Linked DNA regions of Homo sapiens: regions 1, 2, 3 and 5 are each linked to region 4. The links are contacts of gene promoters, found by promoter capture Hi-C in blood cells and fetal thymus (Javierre and others, 2016). All regions are on one chromosome and are shown on one strand. The core of a region is centred on a gene start or on the middle of the fragment in contact, and the rest is flanking DNA. Distances in the headings are between cores, read along the strand shown. Region 1 overlaps TIAL1 (TIA1 cytotoxic granule associated RNA binding protein like 1). Region 2 overlaps GRK5 (G protein-coupled receptor kinase 5). Region 3 overlaps CACUL1 (CDK2 associated cullin domain 1). Region 4 holds the start of EIF3A (eukaryotic translation initiation factor 3 subunit A). Region 5 overlaps RGS10 (regulator of G protein signaling 10).

Region 1 (2,700 bases), core at 78-2,577, 500 kb after region 4:
ACTCAGGAGGCTGAGGTGAAAGGATCACTTATACCCAGGAGTTTCAGGCTACAGTGAGCTAAGATCATGCCACCGCACTCCAGCCTGGGCAACAGAGCAAGACCCTGTCTCTTACATAAATAAATTAGAAATTGAGACTAGATGAATACATGATACATGATTTTGTGAAGAATATAATTTTAACACACACAGTGGACATATCTTACTTTCTTGTGTACTTTTAGGTGCAGGTGGTTTACGAGTGGCCCAATTGGTTCGGATTTGACGACCACCCAACCACTGACCGCCCATATGCACAATCGCATTTTCTGCATCCTATGGATAAAAAAGAAAGCACAATCACAAAGAAAAGAGTGATAAATAAGACTCTGTAAGATGAAATAAAATATCGGCGCTGCTGGTTCCATACAAATCAGTAGATGAATTTACTAAATATCCTAAACAAAACGAAACTGAACTATTACCAATTAGAAAACGATTTGAACTTGAGATTCAATCTAAGCAAAAACAGAATACTCTGGCCCTTTATCTTACCACTTCAATAAAATGTAGATGACCTGTAATCCCAGCACTTTGGGAGGCCAAGGCAGGAGGATCACTTGAGATCAGAAGTTTGAGACTAGCCTGGCGAACCCAAGTGAAACCATGTCTCTACCAAAAATATAAAAATGAGCTGGGTGTGGTGGCACATGCTTGTAATCCCAGCTACTCAGGAGGCTGAGGCAGCGCGATCGCTTGAACCCGGGAGGTGGAGGTTGCAGTGGGCTGAGATGGCACCACTGGACTCCAGCCTGGGCAACAGAGCGAGACTCTATCTCAAAAAAACAAAACAAAACAAAACAAAACATTGATTTAAGTTATTGAAACTGCTTTAAAATCAAAGCCCACTTTATTATTTAATGTTACAGTTAATGCAAATGCTTACTTTGGTACCCCTTTTACAAAGAATATATGCAAAAATCAAGATGAATTGCTTAAATTTTTATTTACATAATTTGTTGTAGTCATTCACATCCCAGTTATATAAGAGTATGAATAATAATTTAAAAGGTAGAGTTAAAACTGAGATTTTCATGGTTAAAACTGAATATAATTTACCTAACCTCTAAATTCTCAGATTAGCTCATCTGTCCTAGACTTGGGCTTTACTTCTAAATCCATCTGACCTTTACCAATGTACAAACACAATTTTAATAATCTTCCTTATAGTATAATCATTCTTTTTCTAGCTATTTATTTTCGAGTTTATGAAAGAGGAATGAAATTATACTCTATTATTAAAACATACATAACATTACATAAAAGTTGTGTTTGTAGTTAACATTCAAGTATATTCAAGTTTCAGATTCAATACATTAAGTAACTAATGACTAAATTTAGTATTAAAAAATATAAATTGAGATGGAAGAACGTACCAGTTTGTTATAAAAAGATACAAAACCATAGCCTTTGGATTTTCCAGTTGCCATGTCTTTAACTACCCGGGCATCCCTGTGAAAAGAAGCACAGCTAAATGAGGGAAGTAAGAGCCACCCTCAAAATAAAAACTAAAAGGAACCACACACACTGTATTGTGAGCATTTTTAAAATAAAATTCCAGTTAGCCCTAATTAACTACAACCATTCCTGAACTCTCCCTAATGCTTCTTTACCTGTTAGAAAAAAGCAGTAGGACAAAAACATGTAATAAACATGCAACCTAATCAAATAGCCTGTGCTTTCTAAACTAAATGCTCAAATTTGAAGATTAATAGGAACAACAGTTTCCCTTTCTAATATTCTATTTACTAGTGTCCTCTAAGGTTTACTGATTCTATAAATTACTGTAACAATACTAACTACTTTACCATGCAATCTCTAAATAGTTAAATGTCTTCTGCCTAGTGATACAAAATATATGAAATATTAAAAAATTGAAAAAGAGGAAAAAATAGGAATTAAAAAGGCATACATGGCCTGTTAACAGATTTCTTTATTTTTCTTGGTCAATTCTCTACCATCATTTTGGAGTTTGGGCAGCTGTAAATTTTGAAAAATTGACATTTTCAGAAATTTAAGAAAGGAGAATAAAAAACTAACAACAATGCTAAGCACACCAGTACGAAAACAACAAATTTACACAGAAATTTTAGTGAGTAAGTTAAATGATTGGAAATATAGAACTCCACTGAATATAGAATGTTAAAATGTAAATACTAAAATATGTATATATAAATAATGTATAATAAGAATAAATAGAAATGAGAAAAAAAATCTACAACTGAGTTCCAGTGTGCACAGTTCCTTGCAGTTAGCCTTCAAGATCCTGTCCATTCTTATGAGCAATTCTGCAAAATAACCAGAATGCTATTACTTTTAATTGTGACTTGGACTTAAGAAAAACTGCAGGTCTCAGGTATAAATAAAGATTGAAAAACAGCAACCTGTATTATTTTTATATTGATTTTTAAAATAGTACTACTTACCACATTTAGATTAAAAAGCAAAGCAAATATCAAAACAGAAAGTTAAGAATTACATCTTTTAAAGAAATTAAATCTATAGAACAACAAATTGTATAGAGAAAATATTGTTGTTCTTAGTTGAAACACTTTCCTGTAAAGTAGTACTAAGATGTTTAATTTAAATCTACAGGAAATATACAAAATAAACTGATTTTAATCAGAAAGATAAATTATGATAAACATTTTCTACAATTCA
Region 2 (2,700 bases), core at 106-2,605, 320 kb after region 4:
GTATAATCAGTGTATACCTAGGTGCTGGTACCATCTGCGTTTTATAGAAGGGTTAAGCAAATTGTCTACGATCACACAGCTTACAAGGTCTGAGTGACCTAAGGCAGCTTCTCGGCAGCCTTCCAGTCTGGTGGGCTGTTATTTTTCTGGTAGTTTCCTTTGATTCATCTAAGTCAGTGGTCTTCAACCCCGGCTGCCCAGGTGCCAGCCCTCATGGCCCACTGGAAAGCCTGGTTTCATGGGTCTAGGGTGGGGCCTAGCATCAGTGTTTGCTCAGGGCTCCCTGCTGATTCTGATGTGCAGTCTGCATGGAGCACCGCCATCCTGAGACCCAGCATCTGTGAGAGAGGGCAAAGTAGTTTGGACTAAACATCGGGGCTCCGTGGCCAGGTCTTCCCCCCCGGTTTCCTGACCTGCAGGAGAAGGGGGTTGGTCAGGTGGCCTCTAGGGGATTTCCTCCAGGGGCTGTGAGGTTCTGTAACTATAAGAAGCTCATGAGCAAACCTGTTATTGTTCTTTTTTCTCCTTCTGTTTTAGGCAGAATATGAAGTTACTCCAGATGAAAAACTGGGAGAGAAAGGGAAGGAAATTATGACCAAGTACCTCACCCCAAAGGTAAGGAGTCTTCCAAACCCCACAGCAGGTGGCACAGGAGGCCTTATGCAAAAATAGGAGCCCCTAAGTCTGTGCCAGGCCACATGGGGAGCTGTTAAGTGCTGGGCTGGTGGCTGTTGTTGACCTCCTGAGATCACAGTTCCCATCCTCCCCCAGAGAGTGCCCAAGCCTGGCAGGGCCAAGATGGGGATGGTCTAGGCCAGGACTGGAGTAGGGGCGGGATGCCTGCTTCTTGGGGCCCAGCCCCTTCAAGGGTCACCATGCTGCTGTGTGCCCACACCCAACCATTTGTGGTAGGGCAGATGGAGGCCTGGCCAAGTTCAGGAGAAGTGCCCAGAAGGAAGGGCTTAGCAGGGCAGTTCTGAGAGGTCAGCGTGGAGGGGAAGTGTTGGGGGTTGACTGGGAGGGAAAGGGGGTGCCCAACGACATCAAAGAATGAAGAGAATTCTGAAACATATTCTGGAGTATTCTGAAGGGTCAGGGGCCACCCCGACCCCACCTCGGGGCCACCCACTGGATAGTTGAAGCATCGGGGTACCATTGTCCTCAGGGTCCAGCAGCCTCGGTTCTCCAAGATCTGCTTCCTCTTGACTCACCTTCACAGAAGTGTGTTCTCAACCCATTTAGTGTTCTAGTGTCAGTGGTTCTGCCCACTTGGTCAAGCCACATTCCCTCCCTGGGCCTCTGTTTCCCTTTCTTAAAAGTGGCCTTCCTGTCAGACTCACCTCCCGGAGGTGTTGAGAGCCTGAGATGGGACCTGTGTGGGAATAGCTTTGCGTGTGTCCCATCCCCCGGGGCCAGTGGTGGCTTCACCCTGCTCAGGACCCTGTGGGCCAACCAGCTCCCCGGAAGAGTATACCTCCTGGTGCCCATCCCAGGCTGCCAGTGGACTGAGGTCACCACAGCCTGTGGAAGGTCTTGGCCATCAGTCCCCTCAACCTCCTGCACCTCTTGCACCAAATGTAGCCCTCGTTCTTCTCCAGCATCAGCAGTTGGTAGTGGCCATTGCCCTTGCAGGGTGAGACCAGCCTCACGCCCAGAAGTGTTGCCCTTTGTCACGCCCCACTCTGGACAGCCTGCTAGACGGCATTCCTAATGCGCACACAGTCGCCATCACCTTGTTGCCTCCCCTTGCTGTTTCTCTGCTGCATCCATCATAATCCATGCACTTCTCTTTCTGTGAACTGCAAACACCCCCAGCCCTTTTGCACTTTTCAGAAATGACAGAATTTATGTTTATAAAACACTTCTAGGCATAGAATAGGGCTAGTTTGCTCTGGACAAGGTGTGGCCCTGGGTAGGCACAGCTGCCCCCACCTTGGGGGCCTTGCTATGCTCCAGATATGGGCCTGTTGCTGTCTGTGAGGTTCTCAGGTGGACACAGACGAGGAGACGTTCTCAGCAGGGTCCCTGTTCACCCAGTCGCAGCCGATGTCATATTGGTGGGGCTCTGGCTAGATACATTTTTGATCTCCTGGCCACCACTCAAGATAGTGTGGACACTCTGGGCATAAACACATGCCCTGAGCTTAAAGGGGTGCATGCACCCTAGAGGGCATAATGATGACAGCTCCCTGGCTGGGCTCCTATGGTGTGCCACATGCCTCCGAGATGTCTCTGATGATTCGCGTATCCACGAGATTGCCCTATTTACAGACAGGCCACTGAGGCCACAGAGCTGAATAGCGTGAGAGGCCACTCTGCTGAAGGGGTCTTCAGCTACCCTCTGCAGAGGCATCTTCCCACGGTGGCTCAGCTTGGCCCAGTCCAGCGCTTCATCTGTGCCCCCATAGGGCTACCCAGTCACATGTGTCCCCCCCAAACAATGGCAACTAGAATGTATTGAGGACTCCTTGTGTCAGGCACCACTGTCTATAGTCCTTGCTGTCACTGTGGGATGCAGATTATATTTGTTCCATCTTACCGATAAGGAAGGAGAGGCTCAGGGGAGCTGTCACATCCCAAGTCACACAACTAGTGAGTGGCGGAGCTAGAATTTGAACCCAAGTCTGGGTGATTCTAGAGCCCTGAGTGTTTCCCCTGGGTGTAGTCTCCTCACCCGGCTTCACTGTCCTGCCACTGTCT
Region 3 (2,700 bases), core at 84-2,583, 350 kb before region 4:
GCAGTAGCATGGAGGAATTTTTATGGCAATTAACTGTTTTGCATGAAACTATGGTGGGGGATACACCACTTCACGCATTTGTCAAGACCAAAAGAACTGTACATCAAATTACTATGTAAATTTAAAAAATCAACAAGGCTGTAGTGGTAAAGATGAAATGCAAAACACAAAAAATGAACCGAATTACAAATGAATCACATAACCCACACTGAATGGAATGGGGAATAAAGGAGTGTTTTGACTAATGTAAAGCTAAAGACAAAAAGAACCGTACATGCACGTGCGCAAACATAACAGTAGGAAGAGGCCAGACATGTAGGTCCTTATGGGCCATTGTAAAGACTTTGACTTTTACTCTAAGGTGGAAGCCTCTCTGGAGGGTTTTGAGCAGAGGAGTGACATGATCTGGCTTAGGTTTTATATGGATCATTCCAGCAGCTGTGCTGAGGGTAAACTAAGTTTGGAGGCTGTGAGCTGATATGGGGTTGGGCCAGATGGTGGCACTGAGGACAATAAGGAGAGATCAGATTTTGAAGATATTTTAAAAACAGAGTCAACAAGATTTGCTGATAGATTAGATGTGAGATGTGAAAGAAAGGTCGAGTGGCTCCAAAGTTTTTGGCTTCAGCACCGAAGGATGGGGTTGTCGTTTACTAAAATGAGGAAGACTGCACGAAAAGCTTAGCTGTCCAGCGGGCATAGCAGATACTGTTGGTGCCCCACCCATTTACCCCATCCACACCCTACGACTACTTCTCTCAATGTTCTGTCCAGCTGCCAGAGCTTGCTCTGCTTGCGGGAGGAGCAGGTAAGAAATTGTGGGAGAATTAACCCCAAAGCAGCCTTCAACCAATGACTACTGAGGATTCAGTGTCATTACCACCAGTAGCTCCCTCTCCTTTTGGGTGAGGCGACTCTAAGGCCCCTGTGCTATACTGACTCCCAGAGCTCCCCACTGGTACTAAGCTCCAGCTGCCTACAGTGGTGACTTTACCTTACTGGCTTCCTTACCTTCCCTGCCTCACTTCCCCAATCCCCCTAGAGCTGCTTCCCAGGGTCACCGTCTTGCTCTTGATACTGAAAAGTGTTACACACTAGGCTCTAGAATATGACCTTTGTATTTATGTAATCCTTAGGATTCAAAGAAAACTGAAAAAGAAATTACATTCTCACTGTGTGATTCTGAGTTACAGAATCCCTTATCAGTGTACCACCTAAACCACATGAAATACCTCTCTACACCGAAAGTTGAGAGTTGAAGGTTAGATAACACGCTCAAAAAGAAAACTGCAAGTAGTAACACCAGTAATTAACATACCTATCTTCTGGGCTCCTAAAATGCTTAGTTCAATAAACCACATGCTATGGCTCCAGCTGGGAGCACTCCTACTTCTCAAGCACAGGCTTCGCACTTTAGCAAATCACCAAGTCAAAGATATGAAGAAGAGGAAAAAGAAACCAAAATGTAAAGTCCTGCAGTTCTAAGTACAGAATGGGGACTCACTACAGAAACAGTGACTGCTGATGCTTTTAAATATCTTTGAAAAGAGACTTAAAAACCAAATTGAAAAAGGCATGTGTCACAGTAGAGAATCTTAAACCCTATTTCCACACACAAAAAAAAAAGCAGTTTCTATTTCCACACGTATTATTTATTATATACAATATACATCTATGTTACCTGAATAGTAAATAGAAAGCCAATTCAGTAACCTTATATGCTAGCTAACATAACTTTCTTCCCAGGAAGGTTCTTCATAACCATCTGCAGTCAACACTTAAAATGACAATCCAGGAAACTTCAAGATATTTGTTATTTACTTGCTTATCTCAACGCAATCCTTGGTTTAAAAAACAAAAACTCCTAGCTATTTGTTCAGTTTAACATCTGACACATATAGCCTCAGAGTGTGTGTGTAATCTTGAACTTAAAAACTAGATCCTCTTGTTAAGAGATATGTAATCACTTTCAACTTTGCCCATAGAAAAGCTTACACTCACCAAAAGAAAAAGTAGGCCAGGCGCACTGGCTCATGCCTGTAATCCCAGCACTTTGGGAGACCGAGGCGAGAGCACCGCCTGAGCCCAGAAGTTCAAGACTACACTGGGAAACATGGTAAGACCTTACCTCTACAAAAACTTAAAAAAAAAAATTAGCCGAGCGTGGTGATGCACACCTGTGGTCTCAGCTACTCGGGAGGCTGAGGCAGGAGGATCTTTCAAGCCCAAAGGTCAAGGTTGCAGTGAGCCATGTTCATAACCCTGTACTCCAGTCTGGACAACAAAGCAAGACTGTCTCAAAAACAAAACAAAACACAAAAGAGTAGCCAAAATTCATGCTATGTGTAGAAGATAGCTGATTTACTACTTTAAAATGAGAATGCTAAGATCAGAGCAGCATGACAGGATCTTAGGAGATCTGCAAGGCTGCCTATTTAGACAATACTTTTCAACTTTTTATTTCTTGATTTCTACAGTTCAGTATGAAGCCTGCATTAGAAAATACATAAGCAAAAGGAGGAAATAAAAATCACTCATAATTTCACCACCAGTATATTGCGGCTGTGCCAGTGTACTGTGCCAGTCTTTTCAATGTATATTATACGTGGCTAAAGAGTATATACAGACTTCCAATGAGGTAAAGAATTCCTTGAATTTTACTTTTTAGATAATTAACTAAATTCCTTTTCTGTATGTAAT
Region 4 (2,700 bases), core at 146-2,645:
TTCAAAGAAGCTAACAAAATAAGCTCTCCAAACATAAAACTGTAACTCACAAGGTATATTCATCTACAACATGGGTAAAACCCGAAACTTCTATTTCGGTGAAGGAAGGATGAAAATAAGAGCTATCCATGCCCTAACGATTAGAAAAATTGTCCGGTTAGAGGGGAAAAAAAAAACCCTACACAAAGTTTCTTAAGCCCAGAGCCTAGCCAAGAACATGTGCATCCCCAGAACGCCAATGTAATAAATGCCTTGGAGAGATCGGGGCACACAAGTTTTTCCCTCAAGCGCCAATGGCTGAAGTACACATATAGAAATAGAAATCGCAGACAGCAGCACTGTGGCAGAAAAAAAGAGAAAAAAGGACTGATCTGGATGTCAAGAGACGTTGGTTTTAAGTCTCTTGGCTCAACAACTCCCGGAGTGACCTTGGGGAAACCTCTCTCTAGGCCTGTTTCGTTATCTTTAAGAGGCGACCTGAAGTCCCTTTACATTAACTCTATTCCAACTTCCAGTGATTCGAAACAGGCTTTAGGACTGCTTCTAATCAATGCCAGGAAAAATGAAAAAACAAAAACAAAACAAAACAACAGGAATCAGGTTAAATGGGTCAGAGGCCCCTAAGTGGATATAAAGCAGCTGGGTAAAGGGTAAGTGGACGCCGACCCAGCAAAGCACTGAGCGCGGCTTGGAGAGCGGGGGTGGCTGCGGGAAGGCCGGGGGTGGGTCCGTAGGGCTCCCGGCCCGGGCAGGAGGTGGAGCCGAGGCTCTCGCGTGCATTGTCCCCGGGAGGGAGCCATGTTTCTTACTCCCCGGCACTCCCAGATGGCGGCCGGGGACGCGGGCCCTAAGCAGACCAAAGCCCCAGGGACCTGGAGAGCCAGAGGACGCAGGCAGCAAGGAGGGAGCTCCAGTCCGGGTAGGGGCTGTCTCCCGGGCTGCGGTCCCCGCGACGCACCCGGAGGCGGCAGGGGGAAGGAAAGGCCCCTGGGGCGACGGTTCCGGGCTACGCGCCTCCCAGACCCCAGTCGATAGAGTGAGAAGGAAACCCATGCCCAACCACCGGCTGGGACAGCGGCGGGCAGGCCGCATCGGTCTCCTCTCCCCGCGCGGGCCGGGCGGCGGAGCAGTGGGAAGCAGGCCCGCGCTCTCGACCTCGGAGGCCTCGGGCCGCCCCAGCCCGGCGCGCCCCGATCAGCTACTCACCGTTGGCGCGTTTGAGGGCATTTTCCGGCCTCTGAAAATAGGCCGGCATCTTGGCGGCAGGCTCAGCTCACCCGGCGTCAGCGAACTCTCTAGTGGCCCGGGCCGGGAGAGGAGACGAAGGGGAACCAGCGTAAGGTCCCACGCGCCTCGCCAGCAGTCGCCCGCGCCCAGCCGGCCAGAGACGGAAAGGAAGGAGCCACGTGACCTCCCCGCGGCGGCCCTGCTGCCGCCCAGGCCCCGGATGTAGGGGGCGGGTCTCCGTGCGCGCAAGCGCGCTGGCGTCACGCACGCCGACAGACGTGGCGGCGCCGGAGTCCTAGGCGCGCAAGGTCCAGTTCCCGTCTTGGGCCTGTCCTGGATAGCGTTAGGGAGACAGTTCACAGGCTCTTCAATCTTCGAGCGAGAATTAGGGTGGGAAGGGTGAGTGTGGGGTCAGAGTTTCTGTCTGGAGAACAAGCAAACGTCTGCAGATTGGTTTTCAAAGCGACTTGTGCGGAGTCGTGCAGTTACAGTAAGGTCCCATCCAGCCTGGGAATCGCCTGTCTTGGCTACGTGAAAATGCTGAGTTTAACGAAAACGCAGTGAGCAGGTGTCATCAGGTCAGCGCCGCTCAACCGTGAGAGACAATCATGGGGAAGAGTGACGCCTAAAATAAACAAGCAAGGTTCTTTTATATCTTGGTAAAGTAAAAAGTTTGTGTCACAGGGATTGCCTTGAGAAATGGAGGCTCTCAGAGGGGGCGAATGGGGACAGCGACCTGGCAAAGGGCGAAACGCCCTGGAGCACAGCAGACTTGCTTGGTGTTTGAAAACACACGGAAAGGAGTGTCGTCACTTTTTACATACAGCGCACGTCACAAACAAATTAAGAAAAATTAGTGTTAGTGAAAAAAATCAATCTGAGAGGCCCTTTTATTGTTGCTTAACAATTTTAATGTTCGCAGACGAAGTACTTTACCTAGAATTTGAAAACCATTTGAACCGAATCTAATTCTCAAGCCCTTGGTACGAAATAAAGGTGAGCTCAGAAGGAAAAAAATTTTTTTTTTTTTTGAAACGGAGTCTCGCTTTGTCGCCCAGGCTGGAGTGCAGTGGCACGATCTCGGCTCACTGCAAGCTCCGCCTTCTGGATTCACGCCATTCTCCTGCCTCAGCCTCCCGAGTAGCTGGGACTACAGGCGCCCGCCACTGCGCCCAGCTAATGTTTTGTATTTTTAGTAGAGACGGGGTTTCGCCGTGGTCTCGATCTCCTGACCTCGTGATCCGCCCTCCTCGGCCTCCCAAAGTGCTGGGATTACAGGCGTGAGCCACCGCGCCCAGCCCAGAAGGAAAATTTAGAAGGCAGCAGTGAAATAGATTATTGTCAATGTATTACACATTTAATAGACGAGATATGTGAATTAATGAATGAGGAAATCGGCCGGGCATGGTGGGTCGCGCCTGTAATCCCAGCACTTTGGGTGGCTGGGGCGGGTGGATCACCTGAGGTCAGGAG
Region 5 (2,700 bases), core at 72-2,571, 440 kb after region 4:
CGGAACAGAGAGGCACAGAGGACGGCAAGAATGAGACGCCGAACCGAATAAAGGGATTCAGGGAAATTCCAAATATAGACCCCCCGCGCCAGCAAAATTCTCCTGACACAGTTAATTAGAAATATGTTTAGTTCAGGAACATATCAGGCTTATGGCCCCCCAGGAAGAGACTAGAGGGCCCTTGTCTGGAAAAATAAAAAAGCAGAAAAAACTCAATAGGAGGATCTGAAGATGTAGTCAAAATCTCCAAAAGCAAAAAAAAAAAAAAAATTAAAAAATAGGAAGAATAAAACATGAAATTAAGGGCTCAATGCAGGGCGTGAAAGGTCATCATTGGAAAAGAGACCAGAGACAATGGAAGGAAAAAAAGTTACTAAAATGATGATAACAATAACAACATAAGACCATTTCCCAGAACTACAAATTTCCAGATTATATGGCTCCACAAAGAATTCACACAATGAATGAACTCCGCCTCTGCCTCCAAAGCCCCTGACTGAACAGTTTTAGAATACTAGTGATGAAAAGATCCTGACCAGGTGGAGTGGCTCACACCTGTAATCCCAGCACTTTGGGAGGCTGAGGCGAGAGGATTTCTTTTGGGACCAGCCTAAGCAACATGGTGAGACTGCTTAAACCCAGGAGGTCCAGGCTGCAAAGAGCCGTGACCTCACTATATTCCAGCCTGGGTGACAGAGTGAGACCCTGTCTCAAAAAGAAAAGAAAAGAAAATTGCTGGGCGTGGTGGTTCACACCTGTAATCCCAACACTTAGGGAGGCCAGGGCAGGTGGATCACCTGAGGTCAGGAGTTTGAGATCAGCCTGACCAACATGGCGAAACCCCATCTCTACTAAAAATACAAAATTAGCTGGGTGTGTTGGAGGGTGCCTGTAATCCCAGCTACTTGGGAGGCTGAGGTAGGAGAATCGCTTGAACCTGGAAGACAGAGGTTGCAGTGAGCCGAGATCATGCCATTGCACTCCAGCCTGGGCAACAAGAGCGAAACCCCATTAAAAAAAAAAAGAAAGAAAGGAAGGAAGGAAGGAAAGAAAGAAAGGAAGGAAGGAAAGAAAGGAAGGAAGGAAGGAAGGAAGGAAGGAAAGGAGGAAAGGGGAAAAATAGAAAAGAAAATAGATCCTATACTATCCCAGAGAGGGAAAAAAAGAAAAAAAAAAAAAAACAGAACAGTTTACATATAAATTACTGATTCTCAACAAAAGTAGAAGACTAAGGAATAATGTCTTCAAACTTCTGAGTGTGTTTCACCCCAGAATTCTATGCTCTGTCAGATTATCAGTGAAGTAGGAGAGTAGGGAAAAAAATAACATTTCCACTCAACAAGGTCTTTACATACCTACCTGCCAGACCCCCCTTCTCAGGAAGCTATTGCCAGCTGTGTTTTGGGCTCTTCTCTCATGAGTCATTCTGGAGGGAAGAAGTCATTCTCGTGTGCTGTTCCCAAAATGAGGGAATGACTCAGGAGAGAAGAGGACTTGGATCCAGGAAATGGAATGCCTTCATCCTACAAAGAGGAAGGAAGTTCACCATGTGTCAGGCATGGGTCTAGACCCTCGGAGACAGTGGGGAAGAAGAGGCCCCCCACTCCCAGATTCCAGAAGACAAACCACACAGAAGACGGACAAGTAAATGACATGGATATGTGAAGTTGTTGAATGCTGGATAATCCACGTCAAGGAATGAACCAACACAGGTCCTATTAAAACAACAGAGGCGAGAGTGGGATTTGTATCGACTCCTCAACAGCCTTAGTTGATGGAGAGAGAAAAATCCTCCCATGGTCTCCCTGCTGGAACAGATGTGATAAGTTTGACTGTGAAATCCAGTTAGGTTACGTGCACAACAGAGGATTAAAAAGAACTGGCCGGGCGCGGTGGCTCACGTCTGTAGTCCCAGCACTTTGAAAGGCCGAGGCGGGTGGATCATCTGAGGTCAGGAGTTTGAGACCAACCTCGCCAACATGGTGAAACCCATCTCTACTAAAAATACAAAAATTAGCTGGGCATGGTGGCACATGCCTGTAATCCCAGCTACTCAGTAGGCTGAGGCAGAAGAATCACTTGAACCCGGGAGGCGGAGATTGCAGTGAGCAGAGATCGTGCCACTGCACTCTAGCCTGGGCGAGAAGAGCGAAACTCCGTCTCAAAAAAAAAAAAAAAAACAAAGACATTCAGTTAGGCGACTTCTCCCAGTGCCTATGTTCCTCCACACTTTTTGTAGTAATTTAGAGCTTACTCCCTGGTTTTACTTCCTAGGCAGCGGGACTCACTAGGGAATGCCTGGAGTCAGAAATGTGGCTCTGAATTCTTTTTTTTTTTGTTGAGACAGGGTGTCACTTTGTCATCCAGGCTGGAGTGCAGTGGCGCAATCATACCTCACTGCAGCCTTGACCTCCCTGGGCAACTACAGGCGCACTCCATCATGTCTAGCTAATTTTTTTTTTTTTTTTGGTATTTTTTGTAGAGACAAGGTCTCACCATGTTGCTCAGACTGGTCTTGAACTCCTGGGCTCAAGTGATCCACCCACCTTGACCTCCCAAAGTGTTATAATTGCAGGCGTGAGCCACTGTGCCCAGCCTCGGGCGAGCTGCCGCTTAACCACTCAAGTCATATCCCTGCATCTTCGAATGGGAACAGTGACTCACACTGGGGCCCAAACACTCCAGGCCAAACACCCCAGG

What was found. Contacts are between HindIII fragments. The CHiCAGO score rates a contact against its expected background, and 5 or more counts as called.
Region 1: a fragment that was not itself captured here is called in contact with the fragment with the promoter of EIF3A in region 4 in 2 of 17 cell types (activated CD4 T cells and monocytes); the score reaches 6.9 in activated CD4 T cells.
Region 2: a fragment that was not itself captured here is called in contact with the fragment with the promoter of EIF3A in region 4 in 2 of 17 cell types (monocytes and neutrophils); the score reaches 7.1 in monocytes.
Region 3: a fragment that was not itself captured here is called in contact with the fragment with the promoter of EIF3A in region 4 in 1 of 17 cell types (M1 macrophages); the score reaches 5.0 in M1 macrophages.
Region 5: a fragment that was not itself captured here is called in contact with the fragment with the promoter of EIF3A in region 4 in 11 of 17 cell types (erythroblasts, activated CD4 T cells, total B cells and 8 more); the score reaches 10.6 in erythroblasts.

The regions. Positions count from the first base shown.
Region 1 is chr10:119,578,520-119,581,219 of GRCh38, forward strand. TIAL1 (TIA1 cytotoxic granule associated RNA binding protein like 1) reads right to left here. Exons shown (of 12, transcript NM_003252.4): 6 at 1,416-1,491; 7 at 207-315. Among named protein-coding and RNA genes, the nearest start is that of TIAL1, 17 kb to the right of the region's middle. The HindIII fragment of the contact is 5,652 bases long and covers 1-2,700 here.
Region 2 is chr10:119,396,158-119,398,857 of GRCh38, forward strand. GRK5 (G protein-coupled receptor kinase 5) reads left to right here. Exons shown (of 16, transcript NM_005308.3): 4 at 538-615. Among named protein-coding and RNA genes, the nearest start is that of MIR4681, 20 kb to the left of the region's middle. The HindIII fragment of the contact is 9,117 bases long and covers 1-2,700 here.
Region 3 is chr10:118,731,715-118,734,414 of GRCh38, forward strand. The region is part of intron 1 of CACUL1 (CDK2 associated cullin domain 1); the gene reads right to left. Among named protein-coding and RNA genes, the nearest start is that of CACUL1, 22 kb to the right of the region's middle. The HindIII fragment of the contact is 1,310 bases long and covers 679-1,988 here.
Region 4 is chr10:119,079,422-119,082,121 of GRCh38, forward strand. EIF3A (eukaryotic translation initiation factor 3 subunit A) reads right to left here and starts at 1,396. Exons shown (of 22, transcript NM_003750.4): 1 at 1,207-1,396. The coding sequence starts at 1,255. RefSeq lists a silencer at 861-1,120 and enhancers at 1,126-1,888, 1,316-1,610. The HindIII fragment of the contact is 5,277 bases long and covers 1-2,700 here.
Region 5 is chr10:119,520,556-119,523,255 of GRCh38, forward strand. All of the region lies in intron 3 of RGS10 (regulator of G protein signaling 10), which reads right to left. Among named protein-coding and RNA genes, the nearest start is that of RGS10, 21 kb to the right of the region's middle. The HindIII fragment of the contact is 8,074 bases long and covers 1-2,700 here.